2 separate regions of the Homo sapiens genome follow, and region 1 is linked to region 2. Evidence: promoter capture Hi-C in 16 types of primary human blood cells and fetal thymus (Javierre and others, 2016). All regions are on one chromosome and are shown on one strand. Each heading gives the region's core, a stretch centred on a gene start or on the middle of the fragment in contact. The rest is flanking DNA. Distances are from core to core; before and after follow the strand shown. Region 1 has its middle 6.6 kb from the start of LINC02767. Region 2 holds the start of CD34 (CD34 molecule).

Region 1 (5,832 bases), core at 721-3,220, 40 kb after region 2:
TAACTTAAATAGCAGAATAATTCAATTTAACTAGTTGCAGAAGATTGTCTGAAACTGCCCTTTTAAATGTGGGTGAATGATTACTTGTTTCTATGATTTAATTATGGCATAATTAACATTATTAATGTTCCTTCTGGCAATAGCTGAACTACAAATTCAATTGCTCCTTAAGACCTCTCTTGACAAAGACAATAAAACAATGCTCCTGGTTCAAAGGAGAAAGGCTGGCCTTCCTGTTTCCTATGGCAGAGACACATGCACCAGCAAAATTAGTTTTCTTAGTACTAGAAAGATTTAAAAAGAAGCAGTGCTAGGTCAATGCCCCATGCAAGGCCATTTAAAGTTGGTTCTGTATCTGCTATGAGAATCTGACTAGTCTAACATTGCTGGTTTGTAGAGTTGCTAAAGAAACAGGAGGCTAGCCTGGGTCTGTATTATGTATTAAATGATGTTATGTTACCAGGTGCCCTTGATGATTTCACAATGTGGAGGAAATGTATTCTTTAATAGAGCTTTGTTTCTATACAAAGCACTTTGTAGTAGTAGCAGTAGGAATAGAAAAGTGGGTGTAGATAGGAAGTCAAATTACTGGACTGAGGGACCATAATGATTGGGGGCTACGGAAAGAAACAAAAAGGACAGGGATTTTAAAATTCAGCAGCTCGGGTGATGCCGTAATCAGCAGCAGTAGGAAAGGTAAGAACCAGGTAGGTTTGGATGGTAGAGGGTAAGGAAACTTGTATATAAATCTATTTGAAAGTGGATGGTTGGGTTCAGCAAAGGTCCTAAAAAATTAACAGACACCCTGCCTTCCTTGTTTGGGACCTATGCCGTCCGTTACTATTCCCTATTAATATTGACACAATATCAAGAGTTCCCTAACAGTCTGATAAAGGTCTGAAGGAGGCAAAAGAGCTGACACTGCCATCTCAAAACCTGATCCAATTTATAGAACCAATACCAGGTTATCCATCCATCTATTCTTCCATCCATTCAGGTTCATTCATACTCAACTAACAGGTGTTTATATGAGCCAGGCACTGCAGGCTAGATACTGGGGATGAAATGGCTAATAGTGCAAGTTGCTTATAGTCTTATTGGAGAGACACATGAAAATGGGCAGTAACACCAGTATGCAATGATGGGGAATAGAAGACAGAGCATTATGCAAGCACATAGGAGCATCTAACTCAGCTCAGGTAAGTCAGAGAAACCTGCCTGGAAGAGGTGATGTCCAAGTGAAGACCCAAAGGATGGAGAAGGGATGGTCAGGTGAAGTGGTGAGGTAGGAGCCTTCCAGGCAGAGCTGTAAGCAGTCAGCAAGGTTGGAGCATAAAGGGTGAAGTGAGGTGTAGTGATAGTTTGGATGAAAGAAGTAAACAGGCAAGATCGTAAAGCACCTTGCCTTATTCAACTGTTTGGACTTGATTCTAAGAGCAGTGTGTGCTGTTTACTAAAGGATTAGATCCATATCTCTCCCTTAAGTTGGAGGGATGGTGTGGGCTTGGGTAGAGCTTCGAGTACTTTGTTGTCTTATGATCATCTGGGGCTAGAGTCAGAGCATCAAGACCTTTGGATCATGTCAGTGGGAGCATCTTAGGAACTCAGAGTCAAGGGTGATAGGAAATTTGGCCCCAGCATCATTTGGCACTCTACTGTCTGACTCCCTCTACCTTCCACTACCACTTGAGCATGCTTATCAAGGGATAACAATACCTACCTGTCTTTTGTAAGCACTTGCTTTGTACCAGACACAATGTAAGCATTTTACAGCTTCTTCTTGACAACTCTGTGTTGTAGGTATTATTATATCCATCTTACAGATGAGGCAACTAGGCTCAAAAACTTTGAGTACCTTGCCCCAGGTGACATGGTAGTAAGTGATAGAGGGAAGATCTGAACCCAAGCAAACTGATCCTAGAGCTCACGTTAATCACTGCAGGAAATATAAAAATGCAAGTAGCGTTCATTTCTTTAATTTGGATGTTATATTGCAGGGAAAGAGTCTGAGATAGAACTACATGATTTTTTTGTGGTTTTATAAATATAACCACATGTTTTATATGTGTAGAACATTAAATATGCCATTTAACAATTTTTAAGTGCAAAATTTAGTGGCATTAATGACATTCATACTGTTGTGCAGCTATCGCCACTATATGTCTCCAAAACTTTTCCATCAGCCCAAACAGAAACTTGGTACCCATTAAGCAATAACTCCCTATTCTTCCTTCCCTAGCTCATGGTAAACTCTACTTTCTGTCTCTATGAATTTGCCTACTCTAGATATCTCATGTAAATGGAATTGCACAATATTTATCCTTCTGTGTTTGGCTTCTTTGCCTGGAACAATGTCATTAAGGTTTATTCGTGTGGTAGCATGTATCAGAACTTCCTTTATGTCTGAAACAGACTTCATTGTATGCACATACCACATTTTGTTTATTCACTCATCTGTTGATGGACACGGGTATTTTCCACATTTTGGCTATTGTAAATAATGCTGTAATGAACACTGGTGTACACATATCTGCTTGAGTCCCTGCTTTCAAGTCTTTTGCGTAACTGCCTAGGAGTGGAATTGCTGGGTTATATGGCGATTCTGTGTGTAGCTTTTTGAGGAATCACCAAACTGAATATTGGCAAAACCACAAAACTTTAAAGATGGAAAGAATCCTGGAGAGAATTTTGTTAGCTCCTTTACTATACAACTGGGGAGATAATTAATTTTTAAATTAATTATCATTTTTTGAGCTTTGACTATATATGGTAGCCATTTAATATACATTATCCTATTTAATCCTCTCCAAAAGCCTATGGTGTGTTCATTATCTTAGTTTTATAGATCAAGAAACTGAAGCTCAGAGAGGCTAGATAACATGCCCAGCATCTCCCAAATGGCAAATGGAGGAGCAGAGCTTTGTACTCAAGCCTGTCCCTATTGTCAAGTTAACTGAAGACCCTAAACGTGGATCTGCTCATGTTGGAAATGGTTCTTAGTTTTGTCCATCTGTAGATGGAGTACAAAACGTTGTGTACTTGTGAAAATGTTTAATTAGTTCTTTAACTATATTTGGCATTTTACTTTTTTTATTTGTGGGTTTTTTTTTTTCATATTACCTGGGTTCACATTTTTAAAATGCACCTTCATTGTCAGTGAATGATGGAAGACGCAGGAAACAAAACACTTTGTTGTTATTGGGTGTTGGTGCTGGTTTTCTCTTTTTTGAATTTTCTCCAAAGTATTTCTCTGTATAGCTACTGTAATCTGATGCTCAGTAAACATCCTCTTAATTGGAATGCTGTTGGTAGTTGGGAGAACTCATCTGACTTTTACATCTTTTTGTCCTCCTTGGGTGTGCTTATCATTCACCTCTTGTCTAATTTTCTTTGTTATTTTATAGATTGAATTTTCAAATGCTGCTTCATAGTGATGACAGCCTTTCTTTCCAAGGATTCCTTTCCTGTTTAAGACGTTTCACACACCATTGTTTAAGCACAAGCACATTTAATCTTGAGCCATTGATAACATCTCCTGCAAGACTTCTGCTTCTCCTCTGCTTTATGGGTGTTTGATTCCATTCATTCGTTTTGTGTAATGTCCTTATTACATAATGTATTCTGTTGTGGCTTCCTTTTTTCTTTTGCTCTCTAAGCAATTTAATTGGCCATTTGGGGGGTCATATTACTTTTTTTCTGCTTAGGATTTTAAACTCTATTCTTGATGAGGCTGAGAATTAGTCTAGCATGTTTCTCAGTCTGCTTTTTCATTTTTACTTGCATAATGAAAGCACACTCAAGAGGAGAACTAGCCCTTGCAGCTATTCCCCATTGCCTTCTCTAAGGGGCTCTACTTACTAATTTTTTCCTCTCTGTCGGGTTTCTAGGTTTTCAAACTGGGACTTTCACTGCCTCTGGCTCACCTGCTGCCCTGAGCATCTTGCTGGTTATTCTGTCTGAATAAAAATAGTAGCTCACATTTATTTATTAATATATACAGGTGTCTATTTTATAAAGCACATTGAAATACATTATCTGACTTGAGTCTGACTTAAATACAGTAAGTAAACATTATTATCTCTATCTTATAGATGAGGAACTAAGATGTAAGGAGGTGAAGTCATTTTCCCAAAACCAGACAAACTAAGTGGCAGATGCAGGATGTAGACCTTATATTTTTCTAATATTTTCTTATTTTTTTTTAACACTTGGGTGTAGTCAAATTCTTTCTGGTTCCTAGTAATCAGATAGTGAGTTTTCAAAAAAAAAATGTATAAAGAAGCTAACGGAAAATAAAAAGGAAATAAATGTGGGAAAAAGCAAAGTATAAATCTAATGAAGATTGACACATTTCTAGCCCTAACTCTGAACCATGTATTTCTTCACTGATTTGAATTCACTTTCTTTTACTACATAAGAAATCACCACAAACTTAGAAGCTTAAAATAACACCCATTTGTCAGATTTGTCAGCTCACAGTTCTGTGGGCCAGGCAGGTTTTGAATCTGGCATGGCATAGCTGAGTTCCCTGCTCAGGGTATCATAAGGCTAAAATGAAGTTGTTAACCAGGCAGGCCTCTTACCTGGAAGCTCTGAGGAAGACTCTACTTCAAGCCCATTCTTATTCTTGGCAAAACTCAGTTCCTTGTGGTTGTAGGACTGATATTCCTGTTTTCTTGCTGGCTGTCAGCTAGAGGCTGCTTTCAACTCCTAGAGCCACATAAATTTCTTAACAGGTGGTCCCCTCCATCTTCAAGCCAGCAGTGGAGCCTGAAATCCCTCTCATGCTTCAAATCTCCACTTCCTCTTCTGCAACAAGCTAGAAGAAACTCTCTGCTTTTGAAAGGCTCAGATGATTAGGTCCAGCTCACCCAGATCATCTATCTTAAGGCTAACTGTGCCAAATTAATATAACCTAATGATGGGAGGAAAATCCATCATATTCATAGTCCTGGGGATTATGTAGGGTGTGTATACGGGGGTCAGTGTGGGAAGCGGGAGGAAACATCTTAGAATTCTGTCTTCTGGAAAAAATACTATTTGAGGTACACAGGCTCTGCTTTTTTTTTCTACCATCTTAAGTAACACCACAGGCTCTAGAACCCCTACTGTAAGGCCTGTAGGGATCCCTAAAACCTCTCCAACACTAATTGTTGATTTCCTCTCTGAGTGGGGCCTCAGACAGCCTCACTGGACTTTCAGGTACTCTCAGGTGTGTAATAGACCATTCCTGACTCTAGCCCCAAGAATTCTTAAATCTGCCTTTCTACATGCTGCCAAAGGTCCTTTGGCTCCCAAATCTTGAAAATCCTACTCTCATTCCTGACCCATCTCTTCCTGTTCTGGGTGGCTTGCCAGCAATCACTAACTGATAACAGTGGTCGTGGTCTCTGCTCCATGGGGAACTTGAGTGTTTTCCTTTAGGGTCCTAGCCGGTAACAGGCCTGGTCCTGGTCCTATCCTACTTTCTATGTAGCATAAGATAATGCATTATACTTGGGCTCGGCTCTGGAAGCTACTGTGACTTTCTCTCCATATCCTGGACAGATCAACATTAATGAAAGTGTCATCCTCCCAACTGCCCACCACCCACTTGGCATCTCCCAGCCATTTCTCATTTCTAATGAGGACCTCACTGAATTCTCACTGAAACCTCATTTGTTGAGCTGGGTGACAGACATCACAGGATCTGGTCAATACCATAGTCTGGTGCTTCTGACCATGATTCCCTCTAAATAGTAAGGTAGAATACCTGCCTCAGGGAAGGGATCTTTTAAAATGACAGCTTTAACATGTTATATTATGTGTCCAACACTTTCTTCACTGACTTAC
Region 2 (6,448 bases), core at 2,060-4,559:
TAGAGAAGTCCAAGCCCACAAAAATATGGAATTCTCACAGCCCTGGCGACTGTGAGAATTTTCTTCTGGAGGGTGGTGTTGTGTTCTTTTTCCATACCTTCTTATTTTTAATTCTCCACACTGCAAGCCATTTAGTTAGATCAACCAAAGTCAATGAGAGAGGGAGGCCCAAGTACCTGAGAGTGGAGTTGGGTAACCATCCAGCCCTGAAAGTAAACCCAGGCCCTCCAGCTCAGGGTCTAAAGGAAATCAGGCAATGAGACCAACGGTAAGAAGTGGAATTTGTTCCTCATTTTCATTTGTTTTCGTAGGACTCTGCAGCTGAGTTTATCTGCTGCAGTTTGGCACTTCTTGCCCTAAGCTTTTTGAGACAAAGATTGCGAAGGAAGGAGATGAGGACAAGGGAATGAGGAGGCCCAGGAGGTGGAGCCAAAGGGATAAGAAAAAGAGGCCCCAGGCCCCTGTGTGTTTTATCAGCCGAACAGAAATGCTGCTGAAGACATGCATCTGCAAAGGTGGTGCCAACTGGGTTGGGTCTACAAGTGCGGAGCACTGGGGACCACTGAATTAGTCAGAGGTCCCCAAGCCTGCTCCTCCTCTGTCGCCATATGGCAGAGATTCAAAGGGTGGAGTCCTCTCCCCTCTGGAAAATAGCTGATAAAATTCTTTTCCCTTTTATTTTTCCCCTCTTACATGTAGCCCTGGACAGGATATGGGTGTGGGGTCAGCAGGCACGAAGGACCCAAAGGAAGAAGAGGAATGTGACGGGGAGGGCCTGGGGGTGTTGTTAGAGTGAGGATAGGGACAGGCCTTGGAAAGCTTGGAGGAAATAGATACCCTGAGCCTGACAAAGGGGTTCCCTAATTACCTGAAAGGCTTCCTGCTCCAGCCAGCACTCTGGCAGTGCTGCCTGGTGGCCCTTGAGCCCCTTACCCTGACTCTGCTCTGTGATCTCCCCCACTTCCAACAAAGACAGCCCACTTCTGGTTAGTTGCAGTGCCTATGCACATGCCACCTTCTCAAAGGGACAGAAAAAAAGAACTTCCCAAAACAAGCTCTTTGTTGGGGTAAATGATGAGAAAACAAACCACAGAAATCCCCTCTACCCTAAATTTTACAATAATAATAGCATTTCTGCAATGGCCCTATGGTAGCATTTCAAGGTACACTCAGTTATCTCATTTATCCCACAATGTATCCCAGGACTGAAAATGACTCCTAGTATTAACAAAACAAAACAAATCCAAGCAAAAACCCTAGAAAGCTCTTGGGAAGGGCATAAAACTACAATTGGCTCAAGTAGTCTGGCAAGGCTGGGAATGGGGCCTTGTGCCTCATCCCTCCCCACCAAAAGCTGGGATATTCTCAGCATATCAGTCCAAAGTTTTGCCAAGGTTGTGTTGCTCCCCCAACCCCAACCTCGGCAGGCCAAGGCGAGACTGGCACTTACCAGCTGAGGAAATAAGAAAAGGGTGGACCTCATTCGGCTGAGGACCAGGTCATCACAAGCTGTGTAGCCAAAGGAGAATGGAGCATCTGATTGGAATCTGCACCACTGGCCAACTCACCCCTGTTTTTTTGTTTTTTGTTTTTTGTTTGTTTGTTTGTTTTGAGAAGGAGTCTCGCTCTGTCTCCCAGGCTGGAGTGCAGTGCCAGGATCTTGGCTCGCTGCAACCTCCGCCTCCTGGGTTCAAGGGATTCTCCTGCCTCAGCCTCCCGAGTAGCTGGGACTATAGGGGTGTGCCACCATGCCCAGCTAATTTTTGTAATTTTAGTAGAGATGGGGTTTCACCATGTTGGCCAGGATGGTCTCGATCTCTTGACCTCATGATCTGCCTGCCTCGGCCTCCCAAAGTGCTGGGATTGCAAGCGTGAGCCACTGCGCCCGGCCGACTCACTCCTGTTATGAGGGCCTAGTCTAGCACCCACTCTAGAATTTTGAAACCTCATTGATAGCTTTTCCTTGCCCCAAAGCACACATCCAGGACTGCCAAACAGGGCAACCCAAAACTTCTCTCAGAGCTTCCTCCAGCCCAGGGGCAGCTGTCCCCAGCTGGGCGGACCCAAAGATGGACAACAGAGGAGACTGGGAACAAAGAGGTCTAGTCCAGGTCACTCTGCAGGGCCACAGTGGGTGGCCCTTAGGATGTAGTGAGAGTACAGAATTGGGAGCCCTAGAGTGCTGTAAGCAAAAGGGAGAGCAATGTACAAAGTTTCAAAAGTTTCAAACCTTCCAAGTGCAAAGAGATGAGGTGGAGAATGTCATTCCCCAAGGAAAGTAATCGAGTATAAATATTTACCGGGTGCCTATTTTTTTTTTAACCGAAGTGAGAGCAAGACCTTAAGAGTAAGGATATGTGTAGGTGAGTGGGGGCAGTGTTCTAACCCATCCACTAGCTTTAGAACTTGGAGCAGGGGCAGAGGAAGAAAACTCCAAAAGGTGACAAGTTTTGAAATTTGTGCAGGGGTGACGGTTTTTGGTAAGGCGAGCGAGGCTGGGCGCAGAGCAAATTCTGTCTACTTCTACCTCCTCCGCGGTGGGGTTGCTGAAGTGGGAATTCAAACTCAGCTTCCCAATCTTAAATGCAAGGTTTTTGTTTGGTTGGTTGTTTGGTTTTGTTTTTCCTTTTCACGGACTGTTCATTCCGAACACCCCTGGCCTGGGACCTGGAGCCTCATCCCTGATTCGCTTCCCTCGAATTCCTTAATGTCCACTTCTGGCTCTCCCAGTCCCTGTGCAAGGTGGGCACACCGGCCCCTTCCCAGCAATCCGCTCCGTGTCTATACTTTCTGAATCAACCAAGAGCCACAAAACTTTTCCTGCTTCTCTCCTCCCCAGTCTCCCGGTTCTGGCTGCAACTTCGCACTCCGCGCCTCTGGCAACCAGAAGAGACCCTGGCATCTCCAAAGCGCTTTATCTCAGTCCATTGGAACCAGTCGTGCTGACCGATTCACACCTCGGCTAACGCACACTCGCGGGGGTGATGGCCTTCCCTTCCCCTCCCACCCCCGTCAGCTCCCAGGTGAGGCGCTGGCCCCGGGGGGAAGCAGCTGTGGGCGGCAGTGCGTGGGTTGGGCAGGGGTCCCTTCCCTCCGTGAGACTCTGCTCTGCTGTTCAGCCTCCCAGAAAGCCTCCACCCTCCCCGCGGCGAAGCCAAGCGGCCGCGGCGCGCGGGCGGTACTCACGCAGCAAACTCAGCAAGCAAAGCGCGGTCCAGCCCCGCGGCATCCTGGGCCCTGCGCGCGCGCCCCTGCGGACCAGCATCCTTCCCGCGCGGCTCCTAGAGAGACGCACCGAGTGGAAGACACTACTCGGCTTGGCCAGGACGCGCTCTTCCCGCCCCCTCCGCCCGGGAGAGGGGTGGGGGATTCTTGCTTTTTTCCTCTCTTCTCCCCTCCCTTTTTAGTCTTGGCAAGGCAGCGCCTCTCCTTGGCTGCTACTAACTTGAGCTCCCCTGGTTGGTCCCAAAGGCGGAGGGCGTTAGGAGGGAGGCTGGGTTGCCGCCGTCGAGGCCAAAAAAGGTGGAGGTTTGTTCGGGCTCCAGATGCCTCGTTCAGCTTTCTGGAGAGGCCCCATCCCACTTCTTCAAGCTCCACTTCCACTTAACTTTTAACCCCTTTGTGGCAGCCTTGCCGGTGGCCAGGGCAGGGGCAAGTTTCCTCCGATTTTTTCCCCACTTTTCTTTCCTTGTGATTTTCCTTTATTTTTAAGTTGTAAGCCAGTAACAATCTTGCAAAAGGAATCTACTGTAAGGACCTCAGTTTAGAAGTGTGAGCATTTCGTTAATCAGGTAAAACTTAACCACAATGTGGCACATTTAGTGATAGCCTCACCAGATCCTGTGCTGTGTGTGAGTGAAGCGTCAGGAGTGAGCAGGTATACGTGACTATAAGTATTCATTTTGGCTGTCCAAACCATTCTTGGAGACTTTTTCTTTCTTTTCTTTTCTTTTTTTTTTCCTGCAAGACCTTTTTGTGTTATGTTAACTTTTTGCTAACTTGTGTTAACTTTTCCTGTGACCTTCCATATTTCCCCATTTAGTTCCCCATCACCATCATCCTAAAGAAAAAGGACTTCCCTGGATGCCTTCTCACCAGTTATCCCCTCTCCAGCCCTGGGTCTAAGCCACTAGGGATTTCACCTTGCTCTCCCATCAGAAAAAGGACTTTCTGTGACTCCATCCTCCACCACTTGATAGATCCTTGAGCTTCCTGTTCCTCACCAGTTCCTCTGGGTGTTGGTTGTACTGAATAGAAGAAACTCTGAGCCGGGTAGGCAGCCTAGTCTTGGGGACGTAGAGACGGGAGAAAGGAGAAGCCAGCCTGGGCAGATGATGGCACCAGGGGAGGATCAGATAAGGTATAACCTGGGAGAGGCTGCTCTGATATCCAGAGCAGAATCATGAAATTATAAATACTCAGTTCAGGCTCTTCCATGATGTCTGTACCACATAGCCTAAAGGGAAAAAAGAGAAGCCAGACCAGCACTCTGTGGTCCTTTCTGATTTCTCCGCAGACACTCTAGCATTATAAAAGTAGCTTTACCTTTATAGTCCATCTCAAACCTACTATGCGTTGGGGTTGCACAGGAGAAGGATCCAGGTCTAAAAACAAACCCAAAATCTCCTTATTCTGGTCTTGTTGCCTAGCATTCCTTTAAACAGGGAACAAAGTCTTTCATCACACAATAAGAGCAAAGGCCTGATATGCTAATTTGATTGAATACAACGGAATGGTATGAATCTGTTTCAAAGTACAAATGATGATTCAGAACTGATCACATAGTGATGGCAAGGGCCTGGGGACAGAAGGAGTGGCAAACATGCATTTTAAAATCAGTCATTGGTCCTTGGGACTCCCAATTAACAGGGAAAAGGAGTTAGTTCCAACACTGCCAGGCCCCCCACTCCCCTCAACTTCCTCAGCTCCAGGGACCGCTCGGTCTGCTTCAGGCATCCAGTGTGCAGTTGAGAACAAATGTGGGGTTGTAATCCCTGCTAGATATGAAAGCTAATTTGGTCCACTTTAACTTCCATTTCCAGATTTTTTTTTTCTGGTTACTTTAAATACCATTTGTCTCCCATAGCTGGACCACGGGAAACAGGGGAAATAACTTGTCTTTCTTTAGTACCTGAACTTCTTAACTAGCTTTGGGAGCAAAGAGAGAGAGAATGATTCTGTGGAGCAGAGTTTTCTCAAAGCATGGTCTACACAGAATCAAGGGTGAGGGCCAGAATCTGTACTTTGAGTAAGTATTCTCCATGACTCATGCACACTGAGGTTCAAGAAGCCCTGGTATAGAAAGAACACTTGCTGGGTACAAGGAGCAAGGGCGAAGTGGATGTCAGGCTTCAGGGAGGAAAAATAGAAGTAGGGGATATGGGAGGCTGGCAAATCCCTTCCTCTGAGAGACCAGAGCTGTTTCTTCTCTGGCTTGCAAAGGTTATGGATAGCCCCAGAACTACAAAGCTAGACAGTGATTGGCCACTCTTCATATTTTCCAGGGTCACTGAGACTCATCACCCCAAGCACACACACCCTTGCCCAAGCCACCCCCAAACACACGTTCTGGCCACTGGACACAAGGGTACCCAGGGACCCCAGCCTTACATTTCCTCACAGGCCAGGTAGAGTTGAGCTATGTAGTCTCTTCAAAGTTCTAGCCTTTCTGGGCTGCTCCTCAATTCTCTGCTCTCCTGCTTCATAAGCTGTTGCTAGAAGATGTTAGCTACACCGCACAAAATGGAGGATACAACAGAAATACACTGAGTCAGAGGCTGTCTCAGGCCCTTTACAGACCCTTGGAGGTCACAACCACTTTTACTATTAAACATCCCTTACCTCACCCCTCCCCAAAATACACACGCATCATGTCAATCAACCTAAAAGAGGACCTCATCCTATGTCAAATATGTCTGATGTTAAAAAAGTAAGGAAAATGGTTGTTATAATTCTGAATTTTAAAATATATTCATTTTGTTCTTATAATTCAAACTTTATTATATTTACATGAAACTATGAAAGAGTTGAATTGCAGTTTACAAGTTGAGTTGACATTTTTGTAGGCATTTAATGAAAAATTTGTGAATTTTGATTTTCCAATTTTATATTTTGGAACCAAGACTTTTTTCCCACATTGCAAACTTTTTTTTTTTTTTTTTTTTCAGTTTGGCAGGGATCCTTAGCGGTAGAAGTGTTCAGATGCTGGACTGATGCAGTGACAACCTGCAAGTCCCTTTTTTCCTCTTTCCACCTTCTAGTCTCCCTCCAGTGCCTCCTCTTGGCAGAACCTAACAAGAAATCAGCTGACAAGGGAGTCTGGGAACCAGTGTCCTGTGGTAAGTCACCATGATGCAATGTTTGCCTCCATGATAGGCAGGCTATTCCAGAGGCCACAGATCAGGAAGACTCAGACCAAATTATGATGATCAAATCACAAGGGTTATGG

Evidence for each region. Contacts are between HindIII fragments. The CHiCAGO score rates a contact against its expected background, and 5 or more counts as called.
Region 1: a contact is called between a fragment that was not itself captured here and the fragment with the promoter of CD34 in region 2, in 3 of 17 cell types (M1 macrophages, naive B cells and megakaryocytes). The highest score is 5.2, in M1 macrophages.

Annotation. Positions count from the first base shown.
Region 1 is chr1:207,949,514-207,955,345 of GRCh38, forward strand. No RefSeq gene overlaps it. Among named protein-coding and RNA genes, the nearest start is that of LINC02767, 6.6 kb to the right of the region's middle. The HindIII fragment of the contact is 4,934 bases long and covers 1-4,437 here.
Region 2 is chr1:207,907,816-207,914,263 of GRCh38, forward strand. It overlaps CD34 (CD34 molecule), which reads right to left and starts at 3,310. Exons shown (of 8, transcript NM_001025109.2): 1 at 3,187-3,310. The coding sequence starts at 3,265. LOC107985253 (a long non-coding RNA gene) reads left to right here and starts at 2,553. Exons shown (of 4, transcript XR_001738424.2): 1 at 2,553-2,742; 2 at 2,840-3,023; 3 at 6,168-6,338. The HindIII fragment of the contact is 7,449 bases long and covers 818-6,448 here.